Regions from separate parts of the Homo sapiens genome. Here region 2 is linked to region 1. The links are contacts of gene promoters, found by promoter capture Hi-C in human tissues and cell types (Jung and others, 2019). All regions are on one chromosome and are shown on one strand. Each heading gives the region's core, a stretch centred on a gene start or on the middle of the fragment in contact. The rest is flanking DNA. Distances are from core to core; before and after follow the strand shown.

Region 1 (6,934 bases), core at 1,620-4,119:
ATTACATTTGATCATTGGGACAGATCCATCTTTAATTTAGGGAAATCTTATTCAGTGAAAAAGTTACATTGAATTTCTTGAAAGTACTTCTAATAGGTTAAAAGATTTTGTGACTACTTACACATTCAGATACTCCTTGGAAATGAAAAGATTTTTAAGGCATTATAATACACCCACCCACCTACACATGTTCTTGTCACCTTCTAAGACTCCACCATAACCCTGGAATTCTCACATTTCCTTCTCCCCTCAAAAGACTGACAAAAGATTAAACAGCCAACAAAATCCCCCTAATTGCATGGTCATTCAGTCTAAGTTGTTCTCCCATTCACTGCCTTATAGTCTGTTCTTTTGTCTTGTGTTTTCCATCTGTGCAAAGCTGCAGTCTCATTGAGTTTGTTGGCTTTCCCACTTAAGTTGTTTATTGTACCAAATCTCATTCATTCTGGTGGAAATCAGCCTGTAACACAAGGGTCCATGCCATATATGTTAAATATTGCTTTGTTTTTTAAGCCACTGCTTATTGTAACACACATCTTACCAAATTCAAAAAGCAAGAAATCTACAAATCTTTCTTTCAATAGTTTCAAAGTTAACTTTATTACCCATAATACATACTTCTAAAAGAATGCCAGAATAGCTGAATTCATACATTTCACAAAAATTTATTGAGTTCCTCTTTTTTGTAGGTGCACTAGGAGAAATCACACAGTTCCCTACCTCAAGGCTCTCACAGCAAACAAATCTAAAAAAATGATTGAACTGTATACTTAACATTTGTGTACTTTAGGTAAATTATACCTCAATAAAAATATAAATAAAACCAATTTTGCTATATGCTATGGGCTTTTATAGGTCAAGAAAATTGATCTTTGGATTCTCATAACACATTTTTTTAAACAGGCTACTTATTTTAGATATTTATTTTTCCCCGAGTAGAATGGATTAATTACAAGTAATGACATTGGATCAGTCTTGCCTCTTTTAAGCATAGGCCTTTACTGTAATCTGCTTCCAAACAATCCCAATAAAATCGTTGATTTTAAGAGTCAAAAAGTTGCTCAGAGCCTTCTTCAGGGACTCTTAACTTTTTCTGCCACATGGATCCTTTGAAACTCTGATAAAAGCAAAGCTATAGACTTCCTCCCTGGAAATATACACATGCACCAAGATTTTGGGATAAACACACCACTGAAAACCATGCAGGGACCACTTAGGAACCCAAAGATCTCAAATTAAGATCCACTGAGATAACACAATCCTTTTCCTCCAGATGAAAGCAATAGACCCAGGGAGCGAAAACAGCCTGTTTAGGGGCTGAAGACAGAACCCAGCCTTCTGATACTGCTTACTCCACTGTCTCTTTAGATATCATTAAGTTCCCTTGGCCCCCAAAACTCCCATCTGTGGATCCCCTGAGTTTAGAAGAACTTCCACAGTACCTTGTAGCCTACCTTTTATAACTGGAGTCACGCCGGAAGCTGGTCAAAGTTTACCTTTTACTTATTGGAGAACAACAGGTACAAAGCAGAGTTTCTTATATTAAATTGGGACATTTTTCTCTTTTTTTCCTCAAAACCGAGAATGGAAGTGAAAATTAAAATCCAGCAATAAAGGGTTTTCTTTTTAGTTTAATGAAATCAACTCTAAAATTTGCTTTTATTTATATTCTGAAATTTAAAACTTTGTTCTTCGTTGATCTTTATAACATTGGAAAGATTGAACTTACACTTTGCTCTGTGAATCTTTCAATGGTTTGTGACCAAACCATAAATTTCAACCCGACCCAGGAAATTTCTGCGACTTGTGCCCACCCAGTTTTGCAGTTTGGAACAGAATTCTTGCTCCCAATCCAAATAGAGACTGAGAGAAATGAAAGAGGACCCAGAAAGCCTTTTCTTCTCTGTGAAAGGCCTGATCCTAAGTGGCGCAATCAATAAAGAAAAGGGTTCAAGGTGCAGCCTACAAATTTCTTAGAGTTTAATGTGTTCAGGTTGAGGTGGAGAAATTACATAAACCTGTGAATAGACATGGAATAGAAGCCATGTGTATATGCATTCTGTCCCTAAAGGTTTTGCTAGGTACTTACTAAGCTATTCCTTCTGTGCAATCATCTTTCGTTTTTCTACTTGTATGGATGAAAGCCTACCTTCACTGAACACTTCACCTTATGTGCCAGCTATTGTTCTAAACCCATTACATTATTTAATCTTCACGACAATTCTTTAAGGTAGTCTTATTACTATGCTCATTTTATAGATGAGCAAACAAGTTTTCAGGGGTCAAGAAATTTGAGCAAGTTCACATTAACTTGTAAATCACGAAATTGAGCATCAGATACAAGCATCTGGCTGCACTTCCTGAGTTTGTACGTCCTACTCTCATAAAATAGATACATTGAAGACTGAGAAAGAATACTGTTGGCCGATTCCTCAGGCAATAATTTTTTCGATATTGTATTGTTGTCTCAGAAACCTCCAGCCTCTCTCATTGATGGACGGTAGGAGGGGCACATGGAGTGGACCAGGAGTGGGCAGGAGTGGGGTGGGGGCGTGCTTTTAGAAGCGTTTCGGGGGAACGACAAGGCGCGGGTCGTAGAGGTCTACCCTCTCTGCAGTCCCAGCATGGCTCCTGGAGCTCTCTGGGCGGCCGCTGACCCCGACATCGCGGCGGCCCGCCCCCAGCGCCGCGCTGCCCAATCAGCGGCGCGGCCTGGTGCCCCGCCACTCCGCGCCGGCCATATAGGCCTCCTCCTGGCGCGCCTCCGCACCGCATTGGTGGACCGGCCCCCAGCCCGTCCATGGGCGTTGTGGCCGCCACCGCAGGTTCCGCCTCCCGTTCCCTCCGCCCTCAACGTACGTCGCACCGCCTCTCTGTAGCCGCCCGCGGAGCATCGCAGCCGGCCCGGGCCCCCGCCAGCCTCCCTCCTCGCGTCCCTCGGTGTCCTCCGCGGGCCGGCGCGATGCGGCTGGGCCCGAGGACCGCGGCGTTGGGGCTGCTGCTGCTGTGCGCCGCCGCGGCCGGCGCCGGCAAGGCCGAGGAGCTGCACTACCCGCTGGGCGAGCGCCGCAGCGACTACGACCGCGAGGCGCTGCTGGGCGTCCAGGTGAGGCGGCCAGGCCGGTGCTGGGAGGGCCGGGCCTCGCACCGCGGCTGCCGCGGGCTTTGTCCCGGGACAAAGGGGGGCGGCCGGGCGAGGCCTGGCAGGGGCGGCCTGACAATGGGGGCCGGGCGGCGCGGCACTCGCTCTCTGGGGGTCCTGGGGCCTGGAAAGCCTGAGGAGATAGCACGGCCCAAGAGCTGGATCCCTTCTACCCCTCAGATCATGGAGGGTGTGTAGGGGGTAGGGGCCTTGAAGTGCAGGTGCGGGTCACCCCGAAACCCTTTGGCAAGGGGGTCTTCTAGTAGCCCTGTTTTTCTCCACCATTTTGCCCCACTGATAGTAATGCTTGGCCCTCCTGTGTGTCGCTTCCCCCTAAAGGAAGATGTGGATGAATATGTTAAACTCGGCCACGAAGAGCAGCAAAAAAGACTGCAGGCGATCATAAAGAAAATCGACTTGGACTCAGATGGCTTTCTCACTGAAAGTAAGGACTGCCCTACACGACTAACAATGGAGACAAACACAAATATGTTAAGCAGCGGTGTCTGCTGAATGTATAGATTGCTAGTGTCCCAAGTTGGAAGTCCTGTGAGAAGGAGAAAAGGACATGGAGAATAGGCTTTATACTTACAAATCTTTAGACACTGAGAACCAAGTAAAACTCGGTGCTTTCTCCAGTTATATATAAACATCATTGACCCTGTACTCTATGTGGAAGTCACACCTTGAGACACCCTCTTTCTCACGTGACTTTTGTTAGTGTCAACAATATGATTTATTTTAGAGAAATATGCCCCAAAACTTTAAGGCAGTAAATGATTTATCGCTCTTTTGATATATGCTTCATTTAAATTTTAGGAATTTGCTTCTTTTTTTAAGCAAGTAGAAAAAGACCTGTTGCCTGTGAATTACGTTTATTATAACATTATACCAAAATGTTAGAGCTGGTAGGGGCCTTGGGATCATCTTGTCCACATCACTTTGTAGAGATGAAGAAATGAAGCACAGGGATAAGTGCCTTCTACAAATAAGTGGCAAAGCTGGACTAGAATCCAGGTATCCTGCTCTTAATTCAGGTTTTAATATCCTTCAGTTAAAAAAAAAAATCTGATGCTCTCAGGTAAATTCTCTAGTCAGAAATGAAATGCACAGACTATTAAAAGAATGTTCTAAATAAATTGCTGTGCAGTTGTCTCTCCCCATTGTTCAATTCAAATGATGTTCCCTGTCAGCGTTCCAAGTGGGTCCTCAGAAAAATTCAGGTTGTTATTGTGACTCTTAAGTTAGCTGTTTTTCTGTAACTCTCATTTAAATGCTGTTCACCATCAAGGAATTAAGTTGCTGGAGACAATTAAAAACTGGTAAATTTAAGATGTGCTGTCAATGACATATTCACATTGGAACCCTCTGGAAGATTAAGGGCTTTTTTCTTCCACTTAGTTAGACAATAATAACAAGACCTTTGGTCTCTGATTATCCAATCTAAGAATAAGTCAATCTTTGGTTATACTAGAGTAATCAAAGAACACAACACGTTGATTTGGAAGACTGCGTGGTACCTATCTGTCAAGACCTAGATATGTTCAAATATTTAATAGTAAGGTTTTAAGAAGTTTAAACTTAGAAAAGTTTTAGTCCAAATATTCATTATACAGATGAGAAGAAAAGCTTGAGATGGTAAACTACCCCCTGATGGCAAAGCTGAAGTGTGAACCCACATTTCTGATCCCTGTTCCATTCTGTTTTCTTCTATGCCATGGTGATCTCTTTAAATAAACTAGAAGAAAGATTCATGGTGCTTACGAAAGCCTTCATTCTACTTGAGGACCCTTAAGATAATTTTGGCAATTTGCTCTTTGAGGGCCAGGTCTGGAATCAGATGTTAAGAGGTAGCAAAACTCAGTAGGAGTTGGCTTTGAAGCCAGACAGGTTTGAATCTGGACTCTGCTATTTACTAGTTGTGAAGGCTTGGACTTTTCTGAACCTCAGTTTCCTCACCTGTATAATAGTGATGATTATAATTGCATTGTTTTGAAGATTAGAGGCAACATGTACAGAGGAACCTGATAAATGGTATACTCATGCTGTCCTCACAAATATTCGTGTTCGTCCCTCCCTTTGTTTCCTTTAACGTAGTTTAGTAAATATTTTTATGAATAGTTTTTTGTTTTTTTTTTTGAGGCAGAGTCTCGCTCTTGTCACCCATGTTGGCGTGCAGTAGTGTGATCTTGGCTCACTACAGCCTCTGCCACCCAGGTTCAAGTGATTCTTCTGTCTCAGCCTCCCAAGTAGCTGGGATTACAGGCACTGGCCACCATGCCCGGCTAATTTTTGTATTTTTAGTAGAGACGGGGTTTTACCCGAGACCAGGCTGGTCTCGAAATCCTGACCTTAGGTGATCCGCCTGCCTCAGCCTCCCAAAGTGCTGGGATTACAGGCGTGAGCCACTGAGCCCAGCCAAATAGATTTTTTAAAAGTTGATTGAAAAGTGAACATTTGAATTTTAGAAACTTTCCCATGCCTTCAGGTACCAAGTTAAGACAGATAGCTGTTGCAGGAAGGGCATAAATTGCTACCCATAACTTCGTTAAAATTTACTCCAGATGTTTTAACAACATATTTAAAGGTAATATACTGAAGCAGTATTCTCAGTCACTTGAATACCTTTTCAGAATTTAGGCCATATCTACTTAACCATCTATTATTTTCTTACTATAGTTTTAATTCAACTCACATAAAATTTATTTTAAAGGAAGACTTTATGTCACCTTCATAAATAAAAAACACTGTTTTTTCTCATACATACTAAAATAAATAGCTATCAAAATATTTATGCTTCCTGAGAGATCTGTGGTAGTTAGCAAAGGTTTTCTGCAAGATTTTGGATAACATTTTTTTTAAAAGTAAAGTGCTATTTTGGCCAGTTGGTAATTCATTCAACAAATACTTACAGAGCCAGGAACTTTCCAGGCATTTGATGTACATCAGTGAACAGAACATACCCAAACTTTTATGGAGCTTACATTATATTTAGATCATATGTTATAGTATGGAAGCTCCGGCCAGGCATGGTGGCTCACGCCTGTAATCCCAGCAGTTTGGGAGGCCGAGGCAGGTGGATCACGAGGTCAGGAGTTAGAGACCAGCCTGGCCAACATGGTGAAACCCCGTCTCTACTAAAAATACAAAAAATTAGCCGGGTGTGGTGGCACATGCCTGTAGTTCCAACTACTCAGGAGGCTGAGGCAGGAGAATCGTTTGAACCGGGAGGCAGAGGTTGCAGTGAGCTGAGATCGCACCACTGCACACTCCAGCATGGGTGAAAGAGCGAGACTCCATCTCAAAAAAAAATAATTAAAAGCTTCATGAGCTCTTCTAAACAGCCTTTCCCACTTCCTACCCCATTTCTATTAATACAACTAGGCCAATTCTCAGTATTTGCAAACATCAAAGATTTTGCCTTTTCAGAGAAGGTTTGGAAATCCTTACTCTTAAGTATCAGAATTAACGTCACATGCGTTGTGTTCTGGGAAATTCTCATAGGTGAACTCAGTTCATGGATTCAGATGTCTTTTAAGCATTATGCTATGCAAGAAGCAAAACAACAGTTTGTTGAATATGATAAAAACAGTGATGATACTGTGACTTGGGATGAATATAACATTCAGATGTATGATCGTGTGATTGACTTTGATGAGAACACTGCTCTGGATGATGCAGAAGAGGAGTCCTTTAGGAAGGTGAGTTCATGTGCACAAGCTGTTTCTTTTGATCATGTCAGTTCACTTTACCTTCCTGCATGAATGAGCACATTGAGGGCCTGAGGTCATA
Region 2 (6,934 bases), core at 3,089-5,588, 180 kb before region 1:
CCAAAACCAGACAGAAACTACAAGGAAAAAACTATAGACCAATATCCTTTATCAATATTAATGCAAAAACTCTCAACAAAATACTAGTGAAGCATATTAAAAGGATTATACACCATGACCAAGTGGGATTTATTCCTGGAATGGTACAACATATGAAAACTGGCCAATGTAACATTACACATTAACAGAATTAAAGAGGAAAAAAACACACAGTCTCAACTGATGCAGAAGAAAACATTTGACAATTCAACATCTTTCATGATAAAAAACAACAAACTAGGAACAGAACAAACTCAAAAGCTATGTATGAAAAAACCTCAACAAATATCATATTCAATGGTAAAAGACTGAAAGCTTTTACTCTGATATCAGGATCAAGATAAAGATACCTGCTTTCACCACTTTTATTTAAGGTAGCACCAGAAGTTCAAGCCAGAAAAATTAGGAAAGTAAAAGAAATAGTGCCCAAATTTAGAAAGTAGTAAGATTATCTTTGTTCACAGATGATATGAACTTATATGTAGAAAACACTTACAGATTCCACCAAAAAAAATTGTTAGAAGTAGTAAAAATTCAGTAAAGAAGCAGGATACAAAGTCAACACACAAAAATCAATTGCATTTCTATACACTAACAAGGAACAATCTGAAAAGGAGATCATGAAAACAACTCCATTAACAATAGCACCAAAAATAATAAAATACTTAGTAATTAACCATGGAGGCAAAAGACACATACAATAAAAACTATAAAACATTATTGAAAAATTAAAGACAACACAAATAAATAAAAAATTATCCCATGATCATAAACCAGAACACTTAATATTGTTAAGATATCAACAATACACAAAGTGATGTACAGATTCAATGCAATCTTTACCAAAATTCCAATGATGACTCTGCAGAAACAGAAAAGTCCACCCTAAAATTCATATGGAATCTCAAGGGACCCCAAATAACCAAAACAATTTTGAAAAAGAACAACAAAATTGGATGACTCCCACTTCCTAATTTCAAAACTTACAACAAAACTACAATCATGAAAACAGTATAGTACTAGCACTAAAACAGACATATAGACCTATGGAATAGAACACGGGGCTAAGAAATAGACCCTCACAGATATAGTCAAATAATTTTTGACAAGGGTGCCAAGATAATTTAATGGACAAAGAAAAGCCTTTTCAGCAAATGGTAATGGGAAAACTCGACAGCCACATGGCAAAAAATCAAGCTAAACCTTTACCTAACACCACATACTGAAATTAACTCGAAATGGATCAATTACCTAAATATAAGATCTAAAGCTATAAAACTCTTAGAAGAAGACACAGGATCAAAGTGTCACGACACTAGATTTTGCAATGATTTATTGGATATGACACCAAAGTCACAGGCAACAAAAGAAAAAAACAGACAAATTGGACTTTGTGAAAATTAAAACATTTTGCATGTCAAAAGATGCTACTGTCAAAGTAAAAATGCAACCCACAGAATGGGAGAAAACGTTTGCAAATCATATCTTTGATTTAAAACAAATTGATATCAAGAATATATACAGAAGTCTTAAAACTCCACAATAAAAAAAAAAAACTCAATTCAAGAATGTGAAAAGGATTTGAACAGACATTTCTCCAAGAGGATATACAAATGGCCAATAAGCACATGAAAAGATGCTCAACATCACTAATCATTAGAGAAATGCAAATCAAAACTACAACGAGATACCAAATAACACACATCAGAATGACTACTATCACAAAAACAAAATGATGGGAGTTAGAGAGGATATGGAATAACTGGAACCCTTGTGCACTACTGATGGGAATATAAAAATGGTGAACTACATGTAGAAAACAGCATGGTGATTCCTCAAAAAATTAAAAATAGAATTACTGTATGATCCAGCCTTTCCAATTCTGGGTATATACCCAAAAGAATTCAAAGCAGGAACTGGAGAGTTATTTGTACACCCATATTTACAACAGCACTGTTCACAATAGCTAAAATGTAGTAATAACTCAAATGTCCATTGAGGTATGAATGGATAAGCAAAATGTGGTACATACATACAATGGAAAATTACTCAGCCTGAAAAGGGAAGGAAATTCTAACATATGCTATAACACTGAAGACCTTATGCTAAATGAAATAAGCCAGTCACAAAAGGATAAAATTACACCATATCATTCCATTTACAAGAGGTACTTACAGTAGTCAAAATCATAGATCTAGAAAGTAGAATGATGATTGCCAGGGGCTGGGGGTGAGAATGAGGAGTTACTGTTTAATGAGTATAGAGTTTCAGTTTTACAAGATGAAAAAGAGTAATGAAGATACATGGTGGTGATGACTGCATAACATGAATGCATTAAAACCACTGAATTGTATACTTAACAATGATTCAGATGATAAATTTTACATTATGTTTTTCCCACAAAAAAAATAGGAAAAAAATTAGACTCTATACATGTATTTAAAAAAAATGACTCAAATTAAAATGTGTAACTGTGTCAAGTGCTGGTCAGAATATGGCACAACTAGAACTCTCATTCACTGCTGGTAGGAATGTAAAATATTTAACTAGTATGGAAAACCATGTGTAAAACTTAAACATGAACCTATTGTAAGATGCTATACACCAATCCACTCCTAGGTTTTTATAAAATAAAAATGAAAGTACACATCTGCACAAAGATGTATACATGAATTGCCACAGCAGCTATATTTGTAATAGAAAAAAACTGGAAAGAAAACACATGTCCATCAACAAGTGACTGGGTTAACAAATTATGGTATTTCCATACGTAAAGAAATGGAATGACCCAGCAATGAAAAGAAAGGAGCTATTCACACACACAACAGGATGGATGAAGTTCAAAGTAACTGTTATGAGGGAAAGCCAGAGAAAACAATAGATACTGTATGATTCCATGCACATAAGTTCTAGAAAAAGCAAACATCTATACTGATAGAAAGCAGATCAGTAATTAGATAATAGAGTTGAATGAAGGAATGAATTACAAAGAGGAATTGTGTATTATGTTCATTGTACTGATAGTTTCAAGGATATATACATGTCAAAACTCATCAAATGGAATACTTTACATATGTGCTGCTTATTCTCTATCAATTATACCTTTACAGGGTTGTAAAAATAATAATAGATGGCTCATAGAATTATCAAAGGGATAAAATATTGCACCTGGTAAGTTTTAAATGAGTGTGTAAAATGCTGTTATTCTACAACAGAATAAACATTGGATAAACATTATCTTCTATTACTATTATATAACAATTCAAAAAAGTACTTGGGTAATTAAGTCAACATTTAAAGCTCTTATGATATACCTTAGCTTCTTCTTCTTGTGCTTTTTTCACAATTGCTTGTAACTGCACTTCTCGCTTAAACTCAGCATGAAGTAATTTTTCTTCCATCATCCTGCGTCGTTGATCTAGCAATTCTTCCTTCCACTTCCGGACATCCTTCTCCTACGTATAGTGAATCATCACATCCTTAATTTCAATATATACAATCATTTAAAAGAAGTACAAACAAGTAAATGGCTTATGAAATATAAACTCTAAGCGTGGAAAAATGTGCAGCAACATGACTAACAATTAAGGACACAGACTATGAAGCCAGACTACCTGAATTCATAATCTACATTGGCCACTTACTAGCTGCATAATCTAGACAACTTTTTTAGCCTATGTCTCAGTTTCCTTACCTATAAACAGGAAATAAAAATAACATTACCTAACTCACAGGATTATTTGAAGGTTCATAAAACTCTCAGAACAGTGGCTTAGACATGCCTCTACAGAAATATTTGCTATTATTCTTGTACTGTTACCATGAGTATGTTTAAAATGAATATAGTGTATAATTCTTGTCCTTATAAATGTTAACATCTCTATGATGTAACCCACATTCAAGAAAAATAAGTAATTTTATCCTAGAAACTGAAAAATGACATCTAACAAATCACATTATTTGCATAAGAAACATTCTCTGAAGGAACAGAGAGGGTTTCACCTACAAAAAAAGATAGATGTAGTAATTGCTATTTGATGTTATTTTAAGAAATTAACCCTTAAAACTTTAATTCCTTAAAACAATCTCAAACAGAAGAAGCAAAAGCTTGTTCTGTGCTCCAGGAAATAAGATTCAGCACCAATGAAAATAAATTATAGAAAATCAGAAGATGGGTCAATATGAGTGGAAAAAACCTAACATTTTAATTGTTTTTTTCTCTCAATAATTGTGTTGAACCATCCAAAAAAGTATGATACAAAAATAGCACTATACTAAGAGCCAGATGACATGTCCTTAAAGCCTTAGCTCTGCAAATTATTGGTTGTGTAACACTAGAAACAACACTTAGCCTCTCCTAGATTGTTTTTACTTCTATAAAATGAGGTTCAGTACCTGCCCTGTGTACATCATAGAGTTATTGTGGTGATCTGATGATATTACTCATGTGAAACAGTGTTGAAAACAATAATCCATCATACAAATGGAAGATGAAAGTTGCCATTAAAATTAATTGAAGGGATACCTACATTGATGAGAAAATAACCAGAAAACATCTAAAGTCTTGTATACTTTCACTAATCTATGATTTTCTTGCATGAATACTTGGAGATCATATTTAGATAAAAGAAAATACACTATAATTTTGCTGGCATTAAAAAACACAGTAAGAGAAGAACTGTGATTGTGTTAGAGCACTTCTCTTAAGCTAAAATTAAAATAATACATTGACTCTTGCAGAACCCCACAAGAGACTGCTTTTCATATCAAATCTATTCATCTAATGACAAATTCTTGAGATTCAAGTAAAAAGAAAAATCAAAGAATTTTCTTACAGTCCTAGTCAACTTTACTACTGTATTCAACAGAATCGTGTGCTACCTAACGCATTTTTATGAACATTCAGATTATGTGGTCCAACTATTTCTCCCAAATTTAAATCACACACTAAAAGTAATCCAAATAATATGCTTAACCCATGCATATTTATATTCCTTTCTAATACCAGAAGGTAACGAAAGAGTTCACCTGTAATTACAATATAGTGGCCATATATCTTTCAACATGCTGTGTTAGGTACTTGTAGTATGGAGCCTCTGAGATGGTGCCCACTAATCTAAGCCACCTGGTTTTAAGATCCTTATGTAATCTCCTCCCATATTGTATCAGGACTGTGACCAAAAGAATACAGCAAAAGTGATGTTATAAAACTCAGCACAACTTCATTTTATCAACTCTCTTAGGTACTTTTTCCTTTCTCTCCCCCACTCTTTCTCTGATTTTCTATGGAGAAATCACTGGCCATGTCATGAAGACACTTGGGCTGTAGAAAGGTATACTTGGCAAGAAAGTGAGGTTTCTGGCCCACAGCCAAAGGGGAACGAAGGCCAGCAAATAACTGCACAAATGAGTATGGAAGTGGATCCTCCAGACCCAGATGACTATGACCTGACTGATAGCTTAACTAAAAATTCATCAGGCCAGGAGCAGTGGCTCACGCCTGTAATCCCAGTATTTGGGAGGCAGATAACTTCAGGTCCGGAGTTCGAGACCAGCCTGGCCAACATGGTGAAACCTCGTCTCTACCAAAAATATAAAAAATTAGCCAGGTGTGGTGGTGCACGCCTATAATCCCAGATACTCAAGAGGCTGAGGCAGGAGAATCGCTTGAACTCGGGAGGTGGAGGCTGCAGTGAGCCGAGATTGTGCCACAGCACTCCAGCCTGGGCGACAGAGCCAGACTCCGTCTCAAAAAAAAAAAAAAAAAAAAAAAATCATCAAAGACCCAGGGCAAGAATGATGGCCAGGTATGATGGCTCATGCCTGGAATTCCAGTGCTTTAGAAGGCCGAGGTTAAAGGATTGCTTGATGCCAGGAATTTGAGACCAGTCTGGGCAACATGGCAAGACCCTGTCTCTACAAAAAAATTAAAAATTTAACCAGGCAAGATGGCATGTGCCTGTAATCTTGGTTACTCAGCAGGTTGAGGCAGGAGGATGGCTTGAGCCCAGAAGTTCTAGGCTGCAGTGAGCTATGCTGCATCACTGCACTCCATGCTGGGAGACAGAGCAAGTCCCTGACTCTAAAAAAAAAACAATAGAAGAATCATTATGCAATTCCTGGTTGCCTTTTTCACAGAAAAATGTGAGCTGATAAATGTTTGCTGTTTTAAGCTACATTTTTCTGTCATTTATAATACAGCATAGATAACACAGTACTCAGTTATAAGAGTGACTGTATATTAAACAACATCCAACCTAGCACTGTTACTATTTTACATGCTTGCCTCATTTAAGCATCACAACAGGTTAATAATTATAATTGTCATTTTTCAGAAAAAGAAACTGAAATACAATAATGTTAAGTAACTTGCTCAGGGAATCATAGCTTATTATATGATAAAATCAAGATTTAAACTTGGTTGGCTATCTCCAGAGCCCATGTTATTTCCACTTACCGCAATGATCAATAGTTATTCTGCTCTAAATACACAGACTCTCTTCTGTAAATATAATTAGTGCCCCACCCACTTACCCAAACTTGATCATCTTTCCCTGATGTTGAAAATAATGGTTTTCCTCTTCTAATCAGTTTATATCCCATTACATTCATAGACTTTCTAATGAAGGAATATCTTTGAATTCCAGGAATAAACCCAATGTTTCCTATGTTTTCAGGTATTTTGTTTTTTGTTAACTACAGTCATGATGTTGTACATTACCTCACCAGAAATTATTAATCTTGCATAAGTCAAACTGTTGTACCCTTTGACCAATATCACTCCATCTCCCCTCTCTGCTTCTATGAATGTGACTTTTTCCCATATTCCACATAGAAGTGAGATCATGCAGCATTTCTCTCTCTCATTTCACTTAGCTTAATATCCTCTAGCTCC

The links. The method cuts DNA at HindIII sites, captures the fragments that hold promoters and counts their contacts. A contact is called where the count stands out against the background at its distance.
Region 2: a fragment that was not itself captured here is called in contact with the fragment with the promoter of RCN2 in region 1 in 1 of the 25 tissues and cell types used here (spleen).

The regions. Positions count from the first base shown.
Region 1 is chr15:76,928,880-76,935,813 of GRCh38, forward strand. It overlaps RCN2 (reticulocalbin 2), which reads left to right and starts at 2,870. Exons shown (of 7, transcript NM_002902.3): 1 at 2,870-3,106; 2 at 3,482-3,587; 3 at 6,647-6,843. The coding sequence starts at 2,963. RefSeq lists a silencer at 2,563-3,312. The HindIII fragment of the contact is 23,440 bases long and covers 1-5,617 here.
Region 2 is chr15:76,750,455-76,757,388 of GRCh38, forward strand. It overlaps SCAPER (S-phase cyclin A associated protein in the ER), which reads right to left. Exons shown (of 32, transcript NM_020843.4): 15 at 3,354-3,494. Among named protein-coding and RNA genes, the nearest start is that of SCAPER, 150 kb to the right of the region's middle. The HindIII fragment of the contact is 4,177 bases long and covers 2,251-6,427 here.